5 separate regions of the Homo sapiens genome follow, and regions 1, 2, 4 and 5 are each linked to region 3. The links are contacts of gene promoters, found by promoter capture Hi-C in blood cells and fetal thymus (Javierre and others, 2016). All regions are on one chromosome and are shown on one strand. The core of a region is centred on a gene start or on the middle of the fragment in contact, and the rest is flanking DNA. Distances in the headings are between cores, read along the strand shown. Region 1 has its middle 29 kb from the start of RGS2-AS1. Region 2 overlaps UCHL5 (ubiquitin C-terminal hydrolase L5). Region 3 holds the start of RGS13 (regulator of G protein signaling 13). Region 4 overlaps GLRX2 (glutaredoxin 2). Region 5 overlaps RO60 (Ro60, Y RNA binding protein).

The links. The method cuts DNA at HindIII sites, captures the fragments that hold promoters and counts their contacts. A CHiCAGO score of 5 or more calls a contact.
Region 1: a contact is called between a fragment that was not itself captured here and the fragment with the promoter of RGS13 in region 3, in 1 of 17 cell types (non-activated CD4 T cells). The highest score is 5.8, in non-activated CD4 T cells.
Region 2: a contact is called between a fragment that was not itself captured here and the fragment with the promoter of RGS13 in region 3, in 1 of 17 cell types (neutrophils). The highest score is 5.4, in neutrophils.
Region 4: a fragment that was not itself captured here is called in contact with the fragment with the promoter of RGS13 in region 3 in 1 of 17 cell types (neutrophils); the score reaches 5.6 in neutrophils.
Region 5: a contact is called between a fragment that was not itself captured here and the fragment with the promoter of RGS13 in region 3, in 1 of 17 cell types (neutrophils). The highest score is 6.9, in neutrophils.

Annotation. Positions count from the first base shown.
Region 1 is chr1:192,976,111-192,978,810 of GRCh38, reverse strand. No RefSeq gene overlaps it. Among named protein-coding and RNA genes, the nearest start is that of RGS2-AS1, 29 kb to the right of the region's middle. The HindIII fragment of the contact is 5,377 bases long and covers 1-2,700 here.
Region 2 is chr1:193,036,663-193,039,362 of GRCh38, reverse strand. All of the region lies in intron 3 of UCHL5 (ubiquitin C-terminal hydrolase L5), which reads left to right. Among named protein-coding and RNA genes, the nearest start is that of UCHL5, 21 kb to the left of the region's middle. The HindIII fragment of the contact is 4,210 bases long and covers 1-2,700 here.
Region 3 is chr1:192,634,697-192,637,396 of GRCh38, reverse strand. It overlaps RGS13 (regulator of G protein signaling 13), which reads right to left and starts at 1,250. Exons shown (of 7, transcript NM_002927.5): 1 at 1,080-1,250. The HindIII fragment of the contact is 2,675 bases long and covers 1-2,417 here.
Region 4 is chr1:193,096,007-193,098,706 of GRCh38, reverse strand. It overlaps GLRX2 (glutaredoxin 2), which reads left to right. Exons shown (of 4, transcript NM_197962.3): 3 at 947-1,123; 4 at 1,948-2,237. The coding sequence ends at 2,082. Among named protein-coding and RNA genes, the nearest start is that of GLRX2, 8.1 kb to the left of the region's middle. The HindIII fragment of the contact is 635 bases long and covers 1,021-1,655 here.
Region 5 is chr1:193,070,496-193,073,195 of GRCh38, reverse strand. All of the region lies in intron 2 of RO60 (Ro60, Y RNA binding protein), which reads right to left. Among named protein-coding and RNA genes, the nearest start is that of RO60, 12 kb to the right of the region's middle. The HindIII fragment of the contact is 2,294 bases long and covers 228-2,521 here.

The DNA of each region.
Region 1 (2,700 bases), core at 21-2,520, 340 kb before region 3:
TGACATTAAATAAAACTCCAAAAATTAGATTCCGGCCCTCAAACCCCACAACAGGACTTAATTAACTTTGCCTTCAAAGTGTACAATAATAGAGAAGAGGCAGCCAAGCGACAACACAAACCCCTTTGACTGTAATTTTCCACTACCTACCCAAATCCTATAAAATGGCCCCACCCCTATCTCCCTTCGCTGACTCTCTTTTCAGACTCAGCCTGCCTGCAAGCGGGTGATTAAAAACCTTTATTGTTCACACAAAGCCTGTTTGGTGGTCTCTTCACACGGAAGCGCATGACAATATCCTCCTGCACATGCTCCTGAAAAAAAATACATCACACAAAAACAAGCATTGTTGCCTTGTTGTCAACACTGATAGACTCCTCAACTTGGACTGCATACCACAGTGACTCAATAATCCTCTCTAACTGTGGTGCCTCAATATCCTCTGCTGTTTCATCGTTCATCTAGATATGGTGCTGGCCCAAAGAGGAACATGTGCCACCTTTTGAACTGCAGCCTCTCCTAAAAGTTAATGGCAAACGTCCTTAGCAGCAGGCAGGATCAACTCTTCACCAATAGTAAAGGATTTCTTTGCTTTAGTAGTGCCGTTAGCCACTGAGAATGATGCTCTCAGTGCAGACACATTTGATGAAGTGGTGGCCTTCAATAATTGCTACCGTTCTTCATGTTCACATTATTTTTCTTTTGAAAGATGCAAAAGTTTTGTCTTTTAATGCAGGGTGCTTGGTCTGCATGTGGTGAAGAAGTTTTGAAGGTTTCATGGCTTCTTTGGGTAGCCAGTCACCACATATATAAAGCCAGCTTGGAGAATGTGAATCACCTGTTGGAATGAACCTGTAATTTAAGTCTCGGTATCTTCTTTTAAATGCAACTTTTTGTTGGCAGTCTTAGAGTCTTCTGCTGTCTCATCACTGGGTCTTTTCCCCTTTTCCAAGAAGCTCTCCAGTGATATTTGTTTTTTACTCACTGTGGCTAGGGTTAGCTCGTGGGCTTACCAAAACTGTGACTGAGACAAGTGTGCAGTGTGGGAAAGAGGCATGAATGGAAGTGGTAAATAAAATAATGGGCGGGCCATAAGCGGAATAAAATGCGTCTGATTCTGACTTAAAGCCTGACATTAAATGCAGCTGTACAATTGAAATACATCAACTCACTCGTCACTGTAAAGCCTGCCACCAGATGCAGCTTAATTTGTCACTTGCCACTCACTGATAGGGTTTTGATATGAGCCTGAAAGCAGTTGATTTATTATGGTCTCTGTGCAGCCAAACCTCGCTGCTAAGGTTAATCTGTATTTGCAGCTGCTCCCAGTGCTAGCATCAGCACTTCAGCTCCACTTCAGATCGTCAGGCATTAGATTATCACAAGGAGCATGCAACCTAGATCTCTTGCATACGCGGTTCACAATAGGGTTCGTGCTCCTATGAGAATCTAATGCCTGCTGCTGATCTGACAGGAGGTAGAATTCAGCAGGTAATGCTTGCTCACCTCTTGCTGTGCTGCCCGGTTGCTAACAGGCCACAGACCCTGGTACCAGTCTGTGGCCCAGGAGGTTGGGGACCCCTGTAAATTCATCATAAAAGGTGTCCCAAGTATTCATTGAAATGTAAATAAAGCTAGATGCTAAGTTTGTCTAAACTTGAAGGATATAACTCTAACCTAGGCTTTTGATTCTTTCTATTTTAAATTCTGCTAACCAGTCTTCTTTTCCTACATGCTGTCAAATTTTAAAATCAATGAGCCCCTTATTCATAAACACTTAAAAAAATATTGATTTTTTTCAGGAGAATCTTGGAAGTGCCCAGCGAATTAGGGGGTGTGAATGAGATTAATTTGCATCATAGTAAGCAGCTCAGAACCTATTTTTGGGTTCCCCTTTCCCTTTTTTAAATTAACTTAAAATGATAAGTGGAGAGTATTTCTTCACCTGTCCTATGATATATTTTTTTCTTCTTTTTCTTTCCCTTCTTATCTCACTTGCCTTCGTTTCAATACTCTTTATCTTTGCCAACAACTCCAGAGCCTGTCCCAACTCCCAAGCCCAAACACACTCCCTTAGGGCTGAGAGTGAGAATTTGTGAAAGACTGGGGAAGGGGAATGTCAAAGGTGAAACAATTTGGCACCCACCTCCGTTGGGTGCATGAGCATTCCTCTTGTTGCTGGAGAGAAAAAAATAGATTTTTTGAAGAGTGAGAGTATTTTTGCAGCACACTAGCTGCTAAGTGTTTGCCAAAGTCTCCCAGTAGTTATCAATATTGTTCATAACATGTGCAGTTTTAGGCGTATTGTGCCTATCTCTGAGGAATTCAGTAGTATTCCAACATTGTCTCATTTTTATCATTTTAAATATTTTTAAAATCTCTATTTGACTTATAGGATAGGAGAAAAATAGTTTTTAACTATACTGTATGAATGGAGAGCACAGAGAAAGGTGCATTTATATCAGTTTCCGAAAGTTATGTAGGTAAATGTTAAGCTAAGTTTATTTTATTATTTCTTAAATATTTTTGGATTTTATATTATCTCAGAGGAGTCAATAACTTCCATTTGCTACTGCAGAAGATAAAACACTACCTCCTGTCTCAACACAACATAATTGAATGATCCTTTTTGTGTAACACAAATGTTTAGAAACTTTGGCAATTATATCACTTTATTCATTTTCATCTGTGTTTGGCATC
Region 2 (2,700 bases), core at 53-2,552, 400 kb before region 3:
ATCTTGGCTCATCTCCACCTTGCCTCCCAGGTTCAAGCTATTCTTGTGCCTCAGCCTCCTGAGTAGCTGGGATTACAGGCATGTGCCACCATGCCAGGCTAATTTTTGTATTTTTAGTAGAGATAGGATTTTGCCATGTTGGCCAGGTTGGTCTCAAACTTGAGGCCAGGTTGGCCTCAAGTGATCTGCCCGCCTTGGGCTCCCAAAGTACTGGGATTACAGGCTTGAGCCACTGCACCTGGCCTACTTTATATTCTTTGTAGCTCTTTTAAATAGGATTTTTTTCTTAATTTCTTTTTCAGATTCACTGTTGGCATATATAATAGCAGCTGATTTTTGTATGCTGATTTTATATTCTTCAACTTTTTTGTTTTTGAGACAGGGTCTTGCTCTGTCTGGAGTGAAGTAGCACAATCATAGCTCACTATAACCTTGTGCTCCTGGGCTCAAGCAATCCTCCTGCCTCAGCCTCCCGAGTAGCTAAGACTACAAGTGTGCACTAGCACAGGTGGCTAATTTTTAGAATTTTCTGTAGAGACAGGGTCTCATTATGTTGACCAGCTGGTCTTAAACTCCTGGGCTCAAGCATTCCTCCTGCCTCAGCCTCCCAAAGTGCTGAGATTACAGGTGTGAGCTACTGTGCTTGGTTATATCCTGCAACTTTACTGAACTCGTTTATCAGTTCCAAGAGTTTTTTGGTGGTCTTTAGGTTTTTCTAAGATTATGTCAGCTATGAACAGTGCTAATTTTATTTCTTCCTTTCCAGTTTGGATGCCTTTTATTTCCTTCTCTTGCCTGGTTGCTCTAGGCAGGACTTGCAATATTACGTTGAATAAAATGGTAAAAATGATCATCCTTGTCTTGTTCCTGATCTTAGAGGAAAGACTGTGGTTTTTTTTTTTTTTTTTGAGATGAAGTCTCACTCTGTCGCCCAGGCTGGAGTGCAGTGGCGCGATCTCGGCTCACTGCAAGCTCCGCCTCCCGGTTCACGCCATTCTCCTGCCTCAGCCTCCCGAGTAGCTGGGACTACAGGCGTCCGCCACCATGCCCAGCTAATTTTTTGTATTTTTAGTGGAGACAGGGTTTCACCGTGTTAGCCAGGATGGTCTTGATCTCCTGACCTCGTAATCTGCCCGCCTCGGCCTCCCAAAGTGCTGTGATTACAGGCGTGAGCCACGGTGCCCGGCCTAAGACTTTAACTTTTTTTAAATTCAGTATGATATTAGCTGTGAGTCTGTTTTATGTGGCTGTTATTGTGTTGAGGTATGTACCTTCCATATCCAGTGTATTGAGGGTTTTTGTCATAAAGGCATGTTAAATTTTATCAAATGCTTTTTCAGCATCTGTTGAAATAATTAGGTAGTTTTTTTCTTGGTATCACATTTATTGATTAGCACATATTGAACCATCTTGCATCCCTGGATGACTCTTACTTAATCAAGGTAAATGACCTTTTTTTTTTTTTTTTTTTTAATACTTTAAGTTCTAGGGTACATGTGCACAACGTGCAGGTTTGGTTTGTTACATATGTATACATGTGCCATGTTGGTGTGCTGCACCCATTAGGTAAATAATCTTTTTAATGTGGTATTATTTAATTTGGTTTGTTACTTTTGAATTTGGTTTGTTACTATTTGGTTGAAGATTTTTGCATCTATTATCATCAGTGATACTGGTCTGTAGTTTTTTTGTTGTGTCCTTGCCTGGTTTTGGTATCAGAATAATGCTGATTTTGTAGAATGGGTTGGAAAGCATTCCTTCTTCTTCAATTTTTTTGAAGAGTTTGAGTAAAATTAGCATTCATTCTTCTTTAAATGTTGAGTAGAATTTAGTAATGAAGTTGTCACATCCTGGGCTTTGCTTTACTTTTAATTATGGCTCTGATCTCATTACTTGTTATTAGATTCTTTAGATTTTTTTATTCCTTCCTGGTTCAGTCTTGGTAGGTTGTATGTATCTAGGAATTTGTCCATTTCTAGGTTTTCCAATTTTTTTGTATATAGCTGTTCATAATAGTTTCTAATGATTCTTTGTATTACTGTGATTTCAGATGTTATGTGTCCTTTTTTGTTTCTGATTTTATTTATTTGGATCGTCTTTCTTTTTTCTTAGCCTGGGTAAAGGTTTGTCAATTTTGTTTACCTTTCCTGAAGATTTTTCATTTCCTTGATCTTAATATTGTTTTTTTAAGTCTCGATTTCATTGATTTCTGCTCTGATCTTTATTATTTCTTTCCTTCTAATAATTTTGGGTTTGGTTTGTTCCTGCTTTTCTAGTTCCTTGGGGTATATAATTAGGTGGTTTATTTGGAGTCTTTCTACTTTTTTGATATTTTCGCTATGAATTTCCCTCTTAGTATGCTTTTGCCATATCTCATAGATTTTGGTATGCTGTATTTCCATTTTTATTTGTTTCAATGCATTTTAAATTTTTTTCTTATTTTCTTTATTGGCCTATTCATCATTTAGTAACATGTTGTTTAATCTCTATGTGTTTGTGTAGTTTCCAAGGTTTCTATTATTGATTTCTAGTTTTATTCCATTGTGGTCTGAAGAGAAACTTGGTATGTTATTTTACTATAAATCATATTATTCAGTGATTTATTGAGAACTTGTTTTGTGGACTAACATGGTCTATCCTCGGTGTATGCTGGATATCCATATGCTGATGAAAATAGTGAAAATAATGTGTATTTTGCAG
Region 3 (2,700 bases), core at 1-2,500:
TCATGGCTTATTATAAAAATTTCTTTACTGTTTTAATTTGTAATTTTCCATTACTTTTTATTTAAATAATCTATATTTATCTTAATATTGTGTATTAATTTGCTTTCCTTTTTTGTTTTTCAATACCCTCTTGGTAAAACTAGTGTGTACTTTTACAATCGAAACATAGAGTGTTTAGAACAAGTTTAGGTCTCCACGATGATTTTGCCTCCACTGTTTTCTCCTGATAATTATTTGAAAGAAATACATTTCACCGATAGAATCTAATTCTCAGAGTGATTATAAATGCATTGGTAATGGATTGAGTTGTATTAGTAGTATGCCAGAATTAGATTTGTTTCCTCCATTATTTAAATGAAATCTTAAAGTATTATGAAAATAAATAAATTTTCTTAAAGCAATTCTGTCTGTTTACATATATCTGCATTTAAATATGTTTCTTTATTTTATGATATAGCATGTTACATAAAATTTAGTAAAATTTGGAGCAATTTATATTTTAGTGAGCTTTTGTTGACCACAGCACACAAATTTCTTGTCCTTTAAAAAATTCAAGAAATTTGTGCATAGTTGTGCTTAAGCATAACATAAAAGAATAAAAAAATTCTACAAAATCAAGATTAACAATGTTTCAGATAAACCTTATAATAATCCACACCTGGCTTCAGTACAGTTAACAAAGGATGGAACTAATAATTTGGTAATGCATGATTTTTGAAACAAATAATTCAGCTATGTCTGATTTTATAATATGTTTTTATCTAAACATATAAAATGAAAAACATTTAAAATGAAAATATACACAAAAACATAAAATGAAATAATATACTTTAAAACTGTAGCATTTCCTCTGTTGCCCAACTTAGAAGATTTATTTATATAAGGAGTGACTCTAAGTTTTGTTTTAAATATAGAAAGCCAGGCAAAAGAATATGTGTTTGTTAGTTTGTCTTTTTTTCTTAGAAAAACCTCTGTTAACACTCCCAGAAGTTCTACCATTGAAATCAGCATCTGCTAGTGATTTATAGCAAGCCAATAGTCTTGTATTTATCAACTATTTTATAGAATCTCATACTTACAAATATATCCTGTCGAGCAGTCCACCATGCTAAATTTGATCTCCTCTTTGTTATGATCCGTTTGAAATCAGGTTCTGAAATTTTGTGAGACACCCAGCATTTTATTTTTCCCAGAGTAAAAGGATTTTACTGTCTCTATAATTACCTTCGATGGCACTCTGGCCTCAGTATGAATGTTCTGTTTTTACACACACGTATCTATGCAAAGAGAGGTTTTGTTGAATATGGAAAGTAGTGCTGTAGGACTCCAGTGCATTACTGATAAAGAGGTTTTATCTAACATTATCAGACCATCTGAAGTGATCAGATGATTGGAAGCAGCAGCTTCATGAAATCTTCAAAGTAATACTCAAATCTTTTTCTCCAAAATAATTTTTCTAGTTTTAGAAAATGTATAGTCTAAAGTAAAATTCCCTTTTAAAAAAGACAGAGAACTGAGTACAAACACATAGGACATCACTGCAAACACATGTTAGCAAATGGTTGAGAACTATTAAAATCAATCTGTTTGTAATAGATTACTAGGGACTTTTAACAACTGAAGGATCTAAAAAAGTATCTTTTCTAGTTATACCTCTCTAGTTCCTTCAACTGGTCCTCTACAGCAGTTCTGGACTCCGTTGTTCTACAGTTTGTTAACATGCCTTCAAAATCTGAATTGAACACAGTGCTTAAGATAAGGTCTAATGAATACAGAATATGGTAAGATTGTGAATGCCCTTGTCCTGGATTTACTCCAATTGTGTGTGTGTGTGGGGAGGGGTGGGGGAGTTGGGGGGTTTGGGGGGAGAGAGAGAGAGAGAAACAGAGAGGTAGGAGTAAAGAAATGCTAGAATAAAACAGCAGTAAAGAAGATCAAAATGTGGTTGATGGAGTGTTTCTTAAAATATTTAGGGGCCCAATGAGATAGAAGATTAACCTTACTTGTCTTTTATAATTTTGAGATTCAAACCCAAGAAAATTGAATTTCTCAAACCTGAGAGATAAGTTTGGGACTAGAAAAGGAAAGGAAACTTTGGAAAGTCAGAAGCTGCGTAGATGTAGCAATAATGTAGGAAGTGAAGGGCAGGTTAGCCTCAGCTTGGGAGGATCTGGGTTGTTTGTGGATAGCACTCATTTTCTCTGGGTGCTAGGTGTGCGATTTCCTCCCCACTCAGGACATTTTGGATGCTGGATCTCTTCAGGAAATCTTCAGTGTCATAGTCAAGACTTTTCCTCACCCCAAATAATTCATTTTTTTGGGATTTGGAATGTTTGCTCTTTCTCATGGTGTGGATGCAAGGAGCTGGCAGGAAGATTCTGGAAGTAACACCCTGTGCGAGTGTCAGTTTCAAAGCTTGTTTAATGGAGTCAAACATGAGAATCTCCCTACAGAGTAAAACTTAAGTATCGACAGGGACTGAAAAACAAATAAATCATAGAGTGAAGAGTAACAGCACGAGTAGGTGGAAATTCCTGGAGGAATTCAAGAGCAATGTGTAGATATTTGTGGCAGATTTCTAAACATGGTTTTGTTTCTCTGAAAAAGTGTAGTTCAAGTTCAGTTTATGAAATCATAGCAATATAATGCTTTGTACGGCACATAGGTGGATCAGACTAATTCAGAGCTGTCAGGTTAGGG
Region 4 (2,700 bases), core at 89-2,588, 460 kb before region 3:
GGTGGCAGGTGCCTATAATCCTAACTACTCGGGAGGCTGAGGCATGAGAATCGCTTGAACCTGGGAGGCGCAGGTTGCTGAGATCCCACCACTGCACTCCAGCCTGGGGGACACAGTGAGACTTTGTCTCAAAAAAAAGAAATGTACAATGTTTTGGTTTTTTTGTTTGTTTGTTTGTTTGTTTTGAGACAGAGTCCACTTACTGTGTTCCTCAGGCTGGAGAATCACTGGAACCACCTCCCTGGTTCAAGTGATTCTCCTGCCTCAGCCTTCTGAGTAGCTGGGATTACAGGGATGTGCCACCATGCCTGGCAACTTTTGTGTTTTTAGTAGAGATGGAGTTTCACCATTTTGGCCAGGCTGGTCTCGAACTCCTTACCTCAAGTGATCTGCCTGCTTCAGCCTCCCACAGTGCTGGGATTACAGGTATGAGCCACTGTACCCGGCTGAAAAAGGAGTATAATGGAGATTAAATATCTGGACTGTAGAGCCAGATTTGCCTGGGTCTAATCCCAGCTCTTCCACCTATTAGCTGAGAACCATGAACAAATTGTTGATCTTCCTCTGCACCTCACTTTCCTCAACTGTGAAGTGGGGACAATAATAGGACCTACCTCAGGATTGTAGTGAGGTTTAAATAACACAGTGAAGATAAATTGTTGAGAATAGTACCTGGCACACAGAAATGGTTGCTGTATATGAATTGGCTACAATTATTATTTATTGTTATTGCTCTATGCCAGGCACTTTTTGTTATATCTTTTTTCTAATAACATTGCTTTGAAATGAAAAATATCCTCAATCTGCAGATGAGAAAAAATAGATGATGCTTAGTTTGAGCCCAGAATCATGAGAGACCAAAATCCATACCCTTTCCATTATATCTTAATTTATTTCCAAATGGTAATGTCTAGAATTAAAATGATTTTTTGTGGTTTTATTTCAGGAAACAATTTCTGATAATTGTGTGGTGATTTTCTCAAAAACATCCTGTTCTTACTGTACAATGGCAAAAAAGCTTTTCCATGACATGAATGTTAACTATAAAGTGGTGGAACTGGACCTGCTTGAATATGGAAACCAGTTCCAAGATGCTCTTTACAAAATGACTGGTGAAAGAACTGTGAGTATATCCTCTGTGGTGCTGTTCCTCTTTAATAGGTTGTAAACTAGATCACCCAGAGCCTAGAACCTTGTGTTAGGAAAATGAGCCAGACATTCTCTGAGGATAGATAAAGCAGCTGCAGATCTAGGAACCAGATTCTTAGAATAGGAAACAGCAGAGTTGATTTATTTTATTTTTATTCTGTGTGTGTGTTTTGACTGGGGTTGATGAGTAGTGTTATTATGAGTGCTTGTCTATGGATCTTTGAGTTCCTCTTGGAGCTCTTGGCAAGATGAAAGTATTCTTCCTCCCTTTACCTGGGCAATACAGGGGTTGGTCTTCAATTACTTTTCTAATAGGAGTGCTTTAGTGCTCCATGTTTTTAGATTCTTGAAATTTGGATTTTTCCATAATATGCATAATCAGAAAAATGTACAGTGTTGCCACTTTCAAGTTTATTGAAAGTTTATAGTGCACTCTTTCCCTTCAGTAAACAAATGTAAGAAATAACTAAATATTACTGTTTATCTGCTTTAGTTTATTTAAAGCTTTAGTAATCAGGAAGAAAGGTTTTAGAATCAGATTGTTTGGATTTGAATCCCAGTCTGTCATGTACCATCATTGTGATTTTGTGCAAGTTCCTGTGCCTCATTTTCCTCCAAAACAGGGCTAAAAATAATACCTACCTTAAAGGGTAAAGATTTTAAGATTTAATTTGTGAAAGAGCTTTGTGGTGCCAGGCTCATAAAAGTACCCAGAGTTCAAATGTCTCGTTATTATGTGAAATGATCTTAGTTCTGATACTAGAGTAAAGCCTAATTCTTCTTTTGTTTGTCCAACAGGTTCCAAGAATATTTGTCAATGGTACTTTTATTGGAGGTGCAACTGACACTCATAGGCTTCACAAAGAAGGAAAATTGCTCCCACTAGTTCATCAGTGTTATTTAAAAAAAAGTAAGAGGAAAGAATTTCAGTGATGTTTATACTAATAAGTTTGCTAGTACAGTGTCAGTTATTTAAAGTGGTAATGCCCGATAATGTCTTTTAAATGTTTGAGGATGTTTTAAATACATGCATTGTCTTCACGAAGAAGATGTAAAAATAATGAACAATAAATTGCGGTGGAAACCTCTTCTTCCCACTTGCCAATTCTTGAGAAAAAGGGATGGTATTAAAAAAATGAAAGGTTGGAGTTGTATCAAGATAAGAATGTATTTTATTAGGAATTTAGATATGAATTTTACAACCAAGAGCTAGAAGGTAAGCATTTGGAATTCTTTATTTCCTATTCAGGAGTTAACTCTTTATCTCACATAGTTTTTAAGTGGTAAGGACTGATATTTGATTTCTCTTTAAAATTTAAGGCTTTTGCTGATACACTTGTGAACTAGGCAGGAATATCTTATACGATATTGTGAAAAGCCTTCACACTTTGTACTTGTAGAGTAATAGAAGTATATTAAATTTTTAGCATGGAATGAAATTTATCTTAGAGAAACTAAATTACTCATTTAATGACTTAATAGTTCATTAAGTCATTAATGACTTAATAGTTCATTTGTCATTAAAACTATACCTATGGGCAGAAATTAAAA
Region 5 (2,700 bases), core at 125-2,624, 440 kb before region 3:
ATCTTCTATTTTGTTTTTCCAGTGAAAATAAAAATTCCTTAAAGCAGTTTTATCCTACCCGGTTCTGTAATTGCGCTGGCCATGCAGTGGGTGCACAATAAAAATACCATACCTGATGACTTGAATCACATTTTGACTTGTTTTGTCTGTTATAAATACACATTACACTTAAAGGCATTAAAATACTATTAATTCTGTAGCTTAGAGTTTTTCCAAATTTTTAAGCTTTGAAATGCTAGGGATTCTCTGTCCAATGTGATATTGCTATTACTAACATGGTTTCAACTGTGAGTTCTGCCCTCAACAATTTCAAATTAAAGAATCCTATGTGTGGAAGTAAGTTTAGGAAACATCTACTAATTCCTCATTATATAGACCAAAAAGACAAAGCACAGAATAATTATTTTCACAAGTTCAGAAACTAATTGGTCCAGTTAGAACTAGTAATGGGCGGTCTTTCTCTTAGTCTAGTACTTGCTCCACACTTCCAAGACACATCTCAACAAACCAATAAATAAAGCTGGATGCCTAAGTCCTTCTTATGTTGGATCAAATATTTGGATAAAAAATTTAAATGTAAAAAATAATGTTTCTTAACCAAGAAAATGTTAGGAAAAAACCACAGATAAATATTTTAGGTTGGAAAAGGCCCTTCTAATCCTAACACAAAACATAAACCTATGAAGACATGGATAAATTTGACTACATTAAAATTCAAAACTTTAGTGTGCCAGAAATGTCCCCCAACCAAAAAAAAAAAAGACAAAGAAAAAAAAGAAGAAAAAATGCATGCACTGTATATAAATAATACATTATCAACTCCTCTAATATGAACCCCAAGTTCTTAGAACAGTTTCTATCCATAGTAGGTGCTCAATAAATATTTGCTGAGGGCCAGGCACAGTGGTTCATGCCTATAATCCCAGCACTTTGGGAGGCCAAGGCAGGCGGATCACCTGAGGTCAGGAGTTCGAGACCAGCATTACCAACATGGTGAAACCCTGCCTCTACTAAAAATACAAAAATTAGCAGAGCATGGCGGCAGGAGCTTGTAATCCCAGCTACTTGGGAGGCTGAGGCAGGAGAATTGCTTGAATCTGGGAGGTGGAGGTTACAGTGAGCCTAGATTGTGCCATTGCACTCCAGCCTGGGTGACAAAAGTGAAACTCCATCTCAAAATAAATACAACAAATAAATAAATAAATATTTGTTGAATGAATAGTGATCACAATCAATAGTTAAAAAGACAGTAACTAAGTGGACAAAAGGGCTATGATGTAATTGTATAATTATACATATATACACACACATACATATATATTATATATACATACATATAATTATATGCATACATATATAGGTATATATATGTATATAGGTATATATATATTACATACTATACTATATACTAACATTATATATTATATATACTATATTATACAATATATAGGTGTATATATATATATAATCAGCACATGCAAAGATGAGCTTCTGCCCAAAAATGTAAATTCAAAGAATCTTTCATGATTCTACTGAAAGAGATTAAAAAATAATGACAACAGTTAAGTGTTCAAATGTGGGTACACTGATCCCTTTCACATACTGTTTGTGGATTTAACCATTATGAAAGTAGGTACTCTATGCAAGTGTTTTCATTGTAGTATTTTTGTAACAGTATAAAAAAACCAGAAACAACTCTTGTCAATAAGAGACTAGCTAATAAATTACAGTCATACAATGGTATATATGCAACTATTTCTACTGACCTGAAAGAAACAGCAATAGCAATAGCAATAATATACTTTTTACTGAAACATAGAAGGCATGTAACAAAATTTAGTGAAACACAGTAATATATGTTTAGGAAAAATCTGGAGTAAATTACAACATCTGATATACAGCAAGGGCCCTCAACTCCCAGGCTATACACGGATACCAGTCCGTGGCCTGTTAGGAACTGGGCTGCACAGCAGGAGGTGAGCAGCAGGCAAGTGAGCTCCACTTCCTGTCAGATCAGTAGCTGGGCATTAGTCTCATAAGAGCACGAATCCTACTATGATCTGAGCATGTGAGGGATCTAGGTTGCGCTCTCCTTATGAGAATCTGATGCCTGATGATCTGAGGTGGAACAGTTTCATTCTGAAACCACCCTGCCCTCCCCACTGCCTGCGGAAAAACTGTCTTCCACAAAACCAGTCCCTGGTATCAGAAGGGTTGTGGACTGCTGATATGCAGTTATTTCTTTTGAAGAGTAGGACTGCATCATATTTTTCTGTATTATTCAACTATTTTAAAACATGTAATCTAATAAAATCAAAATAAAATGTTTATACATATAAATATTTGCAATTTATTATTTACATTTCATTTGAAAAACCCCAGTTATAGTTAAAAAATAAGTCAGGAATTACTGAAGAGATTCTGTATATAAAAATATGTGTGGAAGGGAGAAATAGAGAACCAAAGTGTACTTCTACTACATGTTAGGTGCTGGGACATTTAGTCTCAATAATTGTAAGCTTATTCTCCTTACCCTCCTTTTAATAGATGAAGGTCAGAAACTCAGCTTAACTTACTTGGCTTAAGTCCACAGAACTGAAATGTGAACCCACCCTTCTGAGTGGCTGTCTTTTCAAGTTTCACTTCCGGTGCAAAAAAAAAAAAAAAGTCAAATTTTGAACATGTTGATTTTTGTGGAAC